Regions from separate parts of the Homo sapiens genome. Here region 1 is linked to region 2. Evidence: promoter capture Hi-C in 16 types of primary human blood cells and fetal thymus (Javierre and others, 2016). All regions are on one chromosome and are shown on one strand. The core of a region is centred on a gene start or on the middle of the fragment in contact, and the rest is flanking DNA. Distances in the headings are between cores, read along the strand shown.

Region 1 (4,226 bases), core at 233-2,732, 280 kb before region 2:
GAATGGGGGGAAGGAGAGCAAAATATACCAGGAAACAACTTTATCCATTGTATATATCATCTGATTATTCTATCTTCTACTCTTATGGATATATGCTTATACTCTTTTTTGTTTAAAGCACAAAACTCCTGTCTCTGGCCAGGTGCAGTGGTTCACGCCTGTAATCCCAGCACTTTGGAAGGCCAACCCAGGCAGATCGCCTGAGCTCAGGAGTTCAAGACCAGCCTGGACAAGATGGCAAAACCCCGACTCTACTAAAAATACAAAAATTAGCTGGGTGTGGTGGCACAAGCCTGTAATCCCAGCTACTTTGGGGTGGCTGAGGCAGGAGAATCACTTCAGCCAGAGAGGCAGAGGCTGCAGTGAGCTGAGATCGCGCCACTGCACTCCAGCATGGGCAACAGAGTGAGACCCTGTCTCAAAAAAACAAACAAAACAAAACAAAACAAACTCCTGTCCTCCTGCCGGTATTTCTTACTTGTTTTTAAAAGTTAAGAAATGTAACTATTTTTCTATAAACTACTGTTTAATTATGAGTCATTCCTCTTTTCAACTCAGTAGAGAAAAGCATTTAATCTTGCCACAACAAGGATAATTTCCATGTAATACTTACCTCTTTTATGTATCTTTGTACTCAGAAATTTCAAGATTAATTCGGTTATTTCAAAATTCAGTCTTCCCCCATAAGGATTTTCCTTTTCCCTTTCTCCTGCCCAAGATGACATATGGGTGCTGTGGAAAGCTTCCACAAATAATATAAACAGCAAGGGAGAGCTCTCTGGTCTGTGTGATGGCTTCCACTGAAATATCTTGCCTTATTATCTGTTGTTAATGGATTAGCCTTGAATGCAGTGATTTTCAAACATTGAAACTACCTGGAGGGCTTGGTAAAACATGGATTGCTTGGCCTTACCGTCAGACTCTATAATTCTGGGTTGCACCCTGAGAATTTATATTTCTAATAAATATCCAGGTGATGTTGATACTGCTGAACCGGAGACCACACTTTTAGAGCCACTGGCATATGCTTTCACTGTCCTTATATCTGCTTTCCTTCTGGAACGTCTTTTTCTTTTGGCTTCTCTGACTCTCTCCTAGTTTGCCTGCTACCATATTGACTGTTCCTTCCTGTTCCTTGCCCATTCCTTCTCCTCTCTTGTGATCTAAATGTTGAACTGCTTCAAAGCTCAGTTCCTCTACTCCACTATCTCCATATTATTTTTGGTTACCTCTTCCAACTGATTGACTAGAAAAACTGACTACATGCTAATGACTCCCAAGTTTGTATCTCTTTGTCTGACTTCTCCATAGATCCTCTCACTCACGTTTCTACCTTCTTACTTGATATCTCCTCTTGGATATCCAGTAGGCATCTTAAACTTCATATGACTAAAACCAAACTCTGAGTTATTAAAAAAAAATCTGCATCATTCTTATCCCTCAGTAAACTGTTGTCCAGTCTAGGTGTTTTCCTTGATTCAGCTCTTTTCCTCTACACCTGTCCTGCCTGGATGCAGAGCATCAGCAAACCCTATTGACTCTACTTCTAAAACATTTCCCAGATCTGCCCAGTTTCTGCACTACCATTGACCTTGCCCTCGTAGCTATTGTTGCTTGTTTGGACTGCTGTAATGGCTTCCTAATGGGTCTCTATTTACATATCCTAGCTTCCCTACAATCCTTTCTTTAAGAGCTATAATGATTTTGTTTAATGTCACATACCATCCTTACTTCCTTGAATTTTTTCAGTTCCTTCACATTGCACTTAGACTGAAATTCAAACTCCTTTTTATGGTAGGTAGAGCCGTTCAGGATCCAACCTCTGCCTGTCCCTCCAGCCTTACCTTACAATCACTCTTCCCTTCCTCCACTATACACCAGCCACACCAAACACTCCCAAGTATTTCTCTAAATCATCACTAAAATGTCACCTTTCTCAGTGAGGCCTTGAGTGATTACCTTGTCTAAAATTGGAGTGAGGCAGAGTGCATACATGTGTGTATACACACACAATTATACTCCTTTTCTTCTTAGCACACAACTCCCTTCCTTTTTATTTGTCTTTTTCCACAAGAATATAAACAATGAGAACAAGGATTTTGATTTGGTTTGTTCACTCTTGTATCATCAGTGCCTAAAATAGCGCATAGCCCTTAGATTGGGCTCACATATTGGAGTAAATAAGGTAGTGAGGTTTTTCTTTTCCCTTAGGGCAAAGCTTTATATTAGTTGTTTCTTCTGTGTGTGTGTGTGTGTGTGTGTGTGTGTGTGTGTGTGTGTGTGTGTGTGTGACAGAGTCTAGCTCTGTTGCCCAGGCTGGAGTTCAGTGGCGCGATCTCGGCTCACTGCAACCTCGGCCTCTCAGGTTCACGCCATTCTCCTGCCTCAGCCTCCCCAGTAGCTGGGATTACAGGTGCCTGCCACCACGCCCCGTTAATTTTTTGTATTTTTAGTAGAGATGGGGTTTCACCGTGTTAGCCAGGATGGTCTCAATCTCCTGACCTCGTGATCCGCCTGCCTCAGCCTCCCAAAGTGCTGGGATTGGTGCCTTGTGTCATCCAAATGTCAGATTCGTAACCTCTTTATATGGCCTTTTCAAACTGCCCAGCCTGGAGCTGCCACTAGTCTCTTGGTCATAGCATCCTATTTTTTGTTGTTGTCGTTGTTCTATGTGGCATTTTTTTAAAGTCTGATTTTTTTCTTACTCATCTTTTGTTTGTATATCGATTTTCTTTTCTCCTCCCCTCCCTTCACATACGCTAGAAAGTACATTTGTGTAGATCAGAGCCTTTGTCTTATTTCTTTCTGTATTTCTGATGTCCCAAACAGTAGCTGGATGTAGTACACACTAAAGAAATATTGGTTTAAGGAGTAAACAAACGAAGTTCATTATTCTTTCAACATCAAGCCTCACTTGCATCCTTTGAAGGCAGAAGACCTAACCCAGTTCTCCCTGCTTGCTGACCAGGCCTTCCCCTTGGCTTTCATTAATCCTCTGAAACCCAGCTGTGTTCTTCATTAAGTATTTGAGCTAGCTACCATCCCACAGACCTCTAATGTAGGTCCCAACACTCTGCCCTACCGCAGCCTCCTTCCTGCAATCAGAAGACTCCTTACTTCTCAGTTAGCTTGCTTTTTGCTTCACAAGAGCTTTTCTTTATCCCTTACGTGTTCTACTGGGGCTGAGGGAACCCGGGTTAGGGCCTCCCTTGGTCTGTCTTCCTTGCCACAATCCTTACTCCTTTGAAGCTTCTGGTGTTTGCAGAGCACATGCTGTGAGGATGCCTGCTCTTAGGGATCTAAGTGAGAAGAGAAGGGTATGAGTCTTTTTTGCTGTTGAATCCCTACCCTAACCCTATCCTGAAAAGGGGGAGGGAGGAGTTTATTAGCCTTCATCATTAGCCCTTACCTTTGGCTCTCTTCAGCTGGTAAGTGTTTAAAAGTTTTTAAGTACTATTATTTAGTCTTAAATTTCTTCTCTACCGCACTTTCATTCCATGAAGGCAGGGGTCCATTCTTTATATATATTTTTTCTTCTCATCCCCAGTGTATCTACCTTTATGCTATTTTTAAAAATGGGAAGTCATTTTTGATACACACAAACTTAATTCTTTAAGTATTGACTGTGCTTATAATCTCACTCCTTTGAATTCACAGCAGTTATTATTTCTATCCTGTATTTCAGGTCAGTACAACCTTGGACATCTTCACCTTTCTTTATTATAACTTTAGATCCTGTCATTTCACTGTGCATGTGAAATATCTCGTGGCCCTAATAAGAATGGAGGCTTCTTAAGCCCATGGGCTCATCTTACAGGAATGTGCCTGTTTTGTATTTCAGGGTGTTCTAGAAAATTGCTTTCTTGAGCAAAAAGGAGAAAGTTTTTCATGTCCTCATTTGACCACATTTTGTTCCCATGGCTTTAAGTTGAAAGCTCAGAATCAGCTCTACTCTCATCACTAGGTGGCACTTGTGAATTACAAATAGTCAAATGAATTTTTATGACAAACATGTGATTCACAAATATAGATAATGTTTGGAATCCCTGCATGGACGTTCCTCAAAATGGAAGAAATGAAAGAAGGGGATTCCTAGTAAGTACCAGTTGCTGTGATGTATTTATAAATACATGGTTGAAGAATAAATTACTTCATAATCATTTCGTATTTAATAGTAATATCAATAGGTAAAGTCTGGTCTCCATGCCTGTGTTCTTAAACTAATG
Region 2 (4,482 bases), core at 142-2,641:
TCGGTTAGCAGAGAAAATCTCACAGTCCCGTGCCAGACCTCCACGCAGGGACTCTGCAGTGCTGTTAGAAAAATTAGCTCAGCACCTTCAGCTTGCTTTCAGCCATCACTTAGCTTTCCACACAGACATTCCAAATGGGGCCTTTCAAAACTCTGCCCTCAAATGAAGGTAGTTCAGAGCAACACTTTAGATGATATCACAAGACTCCCAGGACGCTTCACTGCTTCCTCAGCATACGCCAGTGCCCGTTTTACAGGGGGGATTTATGATCCTTCTCTCAGTAGAGCGAGCCAAACTTTTATAATATTCATTAAAAATCAGCACCACGTGTAATAATATGGAATACTGCCTGTACACAAGAGGGCCAAGTTATAGGTGTTTAGGGAAACGTGGCAGAATTTTCTGGCCTTGGCAAGAGGTAAAGTTGCAGGCACCAGCACAACACTAACACAACCTTATTTTATTGCAAATGTACATTCAGCCTAAATCCTAATTACCTTCTGTAAAATCCTAACCACCACCAAGCTTTCTTCTGACAGGGCACTCACACGACGGCCTTTAAGGGCAGCAACAACATCCTAAGAGCCGCAGAAAGGAAAGGCAGGGGAGAGTGGCTGGAAGGCAGTAGGAGCTGGGGCTGAAGCCCGGGAGGTTGGCTTTTAATGTCCTCCTGAAATTGACCACTCTCTTTCCAAAAACACTGGCTTGGGGGCTTAAAGGTTCGCTCAGTAGGGCAGGCGGAGGGCCTCCTGAAAAGGATTGAGAAGTCAACATTCAAAAGGCTGCTTTTACTCGCCCGGTCCCCACCCAAAAGGGAGTCCGGTCAGCTTTGTGGGGGCCAGTGGAGCATCTTTTCTTGCCCTTCCGGGAAAACGCTAGCTAACCCTGGGATCCCCGGTCCCGACGTCTGCTCTCCTTCCCCAGGTGCAGCACCTAGGGCTCTGGCCCCCTCCCCACGTGCCACACCAGCCCTCACCACTACTCTCACCCTGCTATGCCCCCAACCCTCGTCTTTCGTGGCCGGGAAGGCCAGGCCGAGCGGGGCGGTCAGCCGGGCCGGGAGGAGGGGGCTCTCCGGGCCGCGCGGCCGCACAAAGCGGGGAGATCTGCTGCTGCGGCGGCATGAGGCGCGCCCCCTCCCGCGAGCCAGCGGAGCGCGCGCGCCCGCCCCCGTCCCCCGCCCCCCGCCCCAGCCCCCGGAGCGCCATTCGCGGAGCGGCTTACGCTAGTCGCCGGGCGTACCGCGCCCCAGCGGCCGGGGAGGTGCGCTGCCCGGCTCCCGTAAAGTTATTGTGAATGGGGAGCGGGTGACGTCAGCGCCGAATGTCAACAATGTAGCGATTGAGAGTGTGGGCGTTCCGGGGAGAGCGCAAGCCGCGCGGCGCGGAGCAAACAGCGCCGAGCCGCCGCCGCCTCAGCAGCAGCAGCAGCAGCAGCAGCGGCAGCAGCGGCCGTGCACGCCCGGGCTGCGGTCGCACAGCGCTAACGTGAGCGGCCGCCGCCCTCGCCACCCCGCCTGCCCACTCCCGCCGCCGCCCCGCTCTCGCTTTCCCCCCGGCCTCCCCTCGCCCCTTCCCCTCCCCCTTCCCGGCGCACTCGGGGGGCTGGGAACGAGCTGCCATGTGATGCGCGTCCCCTCCGCGAGCTTTCGGTGACCCACGAACTGCCCACCTCGCCGGCTGCCGGGAGGGGGCTGCGAGCCGGGAAGACGCGGGGAAGAGGAGGCGGAAAAGGACGCAAAGTTCTCCGGCGAGGTGAGTCCCGGGCCCCGGGCCCCGGGCCCCGCCGCTGGGCGGGGTGGCGGGGCAAGTTTGCGGGGGGAGCGGGCGCGCGGGGCGGGCGGGGAGGCGTGGGGAAACGGCGCGGGAAGGGAGCCCCGGCCGCCGGGCGCGCAGCCGCCCTCCCCGCGCCCTGCCCGCTTTTATGGCATTTTCTAGGAACGGGAAGGGGGTGGGAGCCGAGCCGGCGGCCGCGCCGCGCCGAATGTGTGCTCTCCCTCCCGGCTGTTTACGGCGGCCGAGGCGCATTGTATTTTGCTGGCGTCGAAGGGTGTTTTGGAACAGCAGAGGGAGGAGGAGCAGAGAGTAATAAGTCAGGCATGGGGAGGGCGGGCTGCAGGAGGCGCGCGTCCGCGCGAGCCGCAGCAGCTGTCAGACCCGCGGCCCTGCCCCCGGCCCGGCGAGGCCCGGGTGTCCCGGCCCCCAGCCTGCGATCCCAGCTCCAGGCCGGGCGGCCTCCTCCTTAACCCTCGGCGTGCGCATCCCGGGCTGCTCCGCGAGGACCTTGGCCGCGGCGCCTTTGCGCTCAGCTGTCAGCCGCCGCCGGGTGGCCCGGACCACCGCGACCGGCGGGGAATCAAAGCCCAAGTTTAGGGTCGCAGGAAGAGGCGAGCTGGGGGCCTCGCGGCGCAGACCTGGATCGAATCTCTCCTAGCGAAAGATCGGGTTGTCGGAAAGCGTCCCGCGTAGCTAAGACCTAAGGGCGCCAGGCTTCTGAGAGGGAAACCTTGCACCTCCTCTCCCACAGATCCTCCATGAAGTCAAGGTGCAACACACACACACACACACACACACACACACCCTACACTCCAGTCTCCAAGCCCCAGAAGCTTCACCCAGGAGACTGGTTTATGAAGGGGACACTGCCCTCCCCGTCCCCGCGTCGAGGCGCTCCGTGGCCCCGCTGTGCTTCGCTCACCCGGCGGGTGTTCGGGAGCCCGGCGCCGCTGGAGACGGCGGCGGGCGGCGCTCACGGGCTACCCTAGGTGCCCACGAGGGGAGAGACTGGAGCGAGCATCTCGGCGACCTCGGTCTGGCCAAGCATTTGCAGGAACTCGGACCGTGAGGGGAAGCGTGCAGGGCCGGGAGTGAGTGTGTGAAGGGGTGGCACACTCCTGGCTTCTGGGGTCGCGGGCGCATGGGGCATCCCCAGCACTCTCCCGCGCGTAGGCGAGTTTGGTAACTTGAGGGAAGTTCCGGCGCGGCCGCTGCCGGGGTGGTTTGTCTGTGGCCCGATGAGGCGCGCCTCGCAGCCTGCTCTCCCGGTCACCGCCGTCGCCGTGACCTGTGGCCTCCAGGAAACGAGAGGGACCGGGGCGCCCCACCCGCGAGACGGACCCGCAGTCTCCCGGCGGGCCCGCGGGCGGCGAGACGCGGCGTTCCTGGTTTTCACCTTCGCTGTCTAGTGCTGCAGTCTCTCACTCTCTGTAAATTTCATCTGTTGAGTGTATTTAACTAAAAAGGGTAATTACTTTAGATAAAAATCCTTTCCTGCCTAGTGGGAACCTTGGCGGAGATGATGCCTAATGAGATATTTTGCTTTTGTCTGTTTAGAGTAAAATTAGAGATGTTAACGCTGATAACGGTTTTCTCAGATCATTAAAATGTAACATGTAGGAAAGGCACGTCTTGCTGCAAAGGCTCGGGCTGACATGAAAGAAGCTGAGCGTGAAAGGCTGCCCCTCCTTTGGCGGAGAGGGCTATTTTGGTAAGGCAGCGGGCGTCTTGCTTAAAATGTGAGATCGCCCCACCCTGGTTCTCGGGCACCTCCCGAGTAAACGGCGTTTTTCATTCTTGCAGGTAATAATAAACGTGAGTCAAAATGACATCTTGTTAGAATTAGTCTTTAGTCTGTAAGAGAGATTGCCAAATTACAGTGTTGCGTTCAAACTGCTCCACTGAAAGGTCTGTCAGCATTTCCATTATAAATTCAGTTTTTCTGGAGTTTATAATTTCACCACAAAACTTTGAGTGGCTGAAATGTTTTCCCTTCTAGTATTCTGGTTTTTGAAAGAAATTTATTGATTGCCCATTTCCAACGTTTTTTTTACTCTCGAAACCTGAATATCATTGAAATAGAGCGAAGTCCCAGAAATGGAACACACAACCATGGAATAAAGTATTTTTGTTAGAACATAACTTTATTGGTGCAGAGCCGTATTTTCGTTTTGCATTGCAGGAGGCTTCAGGTTTGCCATTTGGTAATCATGAATGTGTTGAGTAAATTCTTCTGCTGTCTGTCTATTCTGCAGGTGGACTGAAATGTCAGTTGGTAGTGTGTTTGCCAGGATTACATGGAGACACACACTTCTCAGTTAAGTGTGTGTCTGAACTCATAGCTAAATTGTGAACACTCCTGTTAGTTACTTTTTTGGTTCTTTGTATGTTGCATGTCAGGATCTGCTATGAAGAAGAAGGGGTGAGGTGAAAGAGAGGGAGGGGATCAGGATTCACTTTCTGTATTACCAGTGCCTGGGAGAAAGCCATTTATTATTTTCCTATTGAATTATGCCCTTTGACTTAGTATCTTCAGGCAATTCTTTTCCAGTAGCTCACCTCTGGCTGCTGTGTAAGGGGCTTAATTATTTGCAAACTGCCTTGAAATCCCTGGATGAAAGGCACTGAATAAGTGCACAGTATTGTTATTCAGATATGGAATTTAATGATCCATTATAGTTCATCAGGAAAATGCACTTTGCAGTGA

What was found. Contacts are between HindIII fragments. The CHiCAGO score rates a contact against its expected background, and 5 or more counts as called.
Region 1: a fragment that was not itself captured here is called in contact with the fragment with the promoter of BACH2 in region 2 in 1 of 17 cell types (megakaryocytes); the score reaches 5.9 in megakaryocytes.

What each region holds. Positions count from the first base shown.
Region 1 is chr6:90,574,485-90,578,710 of GRCh38, reverse strand. The region is part of intron 1 of MAP3K7 (mitogen-activated protein kinase kinase kinase 7); the gene reads left to right. Among named protein-coding and RNA genes, the nearest start is that of MAP3K7, 10 kb to the left of the region's middle. The HindIII fragment of the contact is 1,476 bases long and covers 745-2,220 here.
Region 2 is chr6:90,293,752-90,298,233 of GRCh38, reverse strand. BACH2 (BACH transcriptional regulator 2) reads left to right here and starts at 1,391. Exons shown (of 9, transcript NM_021813.4): 1 at 1,391-1,754. LOC105377891 (a long non-coding RNA gene) reads right to left here and starts at 995. Exons shown (of 7, transcript XR_942778.4): 1 at 498-995. It overlaps LOC124901361 (a long non-coding RNA gene), which reads left to right and starts at 3,028. Exons shown (of 2, transcript XR_007059676.1): 1 at 3,028-4,482. RefSeq lists silencers at 1,478-1,527, 2,153-2,212 and an enhancer at 2,996-3,085. The HindIII fragment of the contact is 2,083 bases long and covers 528-2,610 here.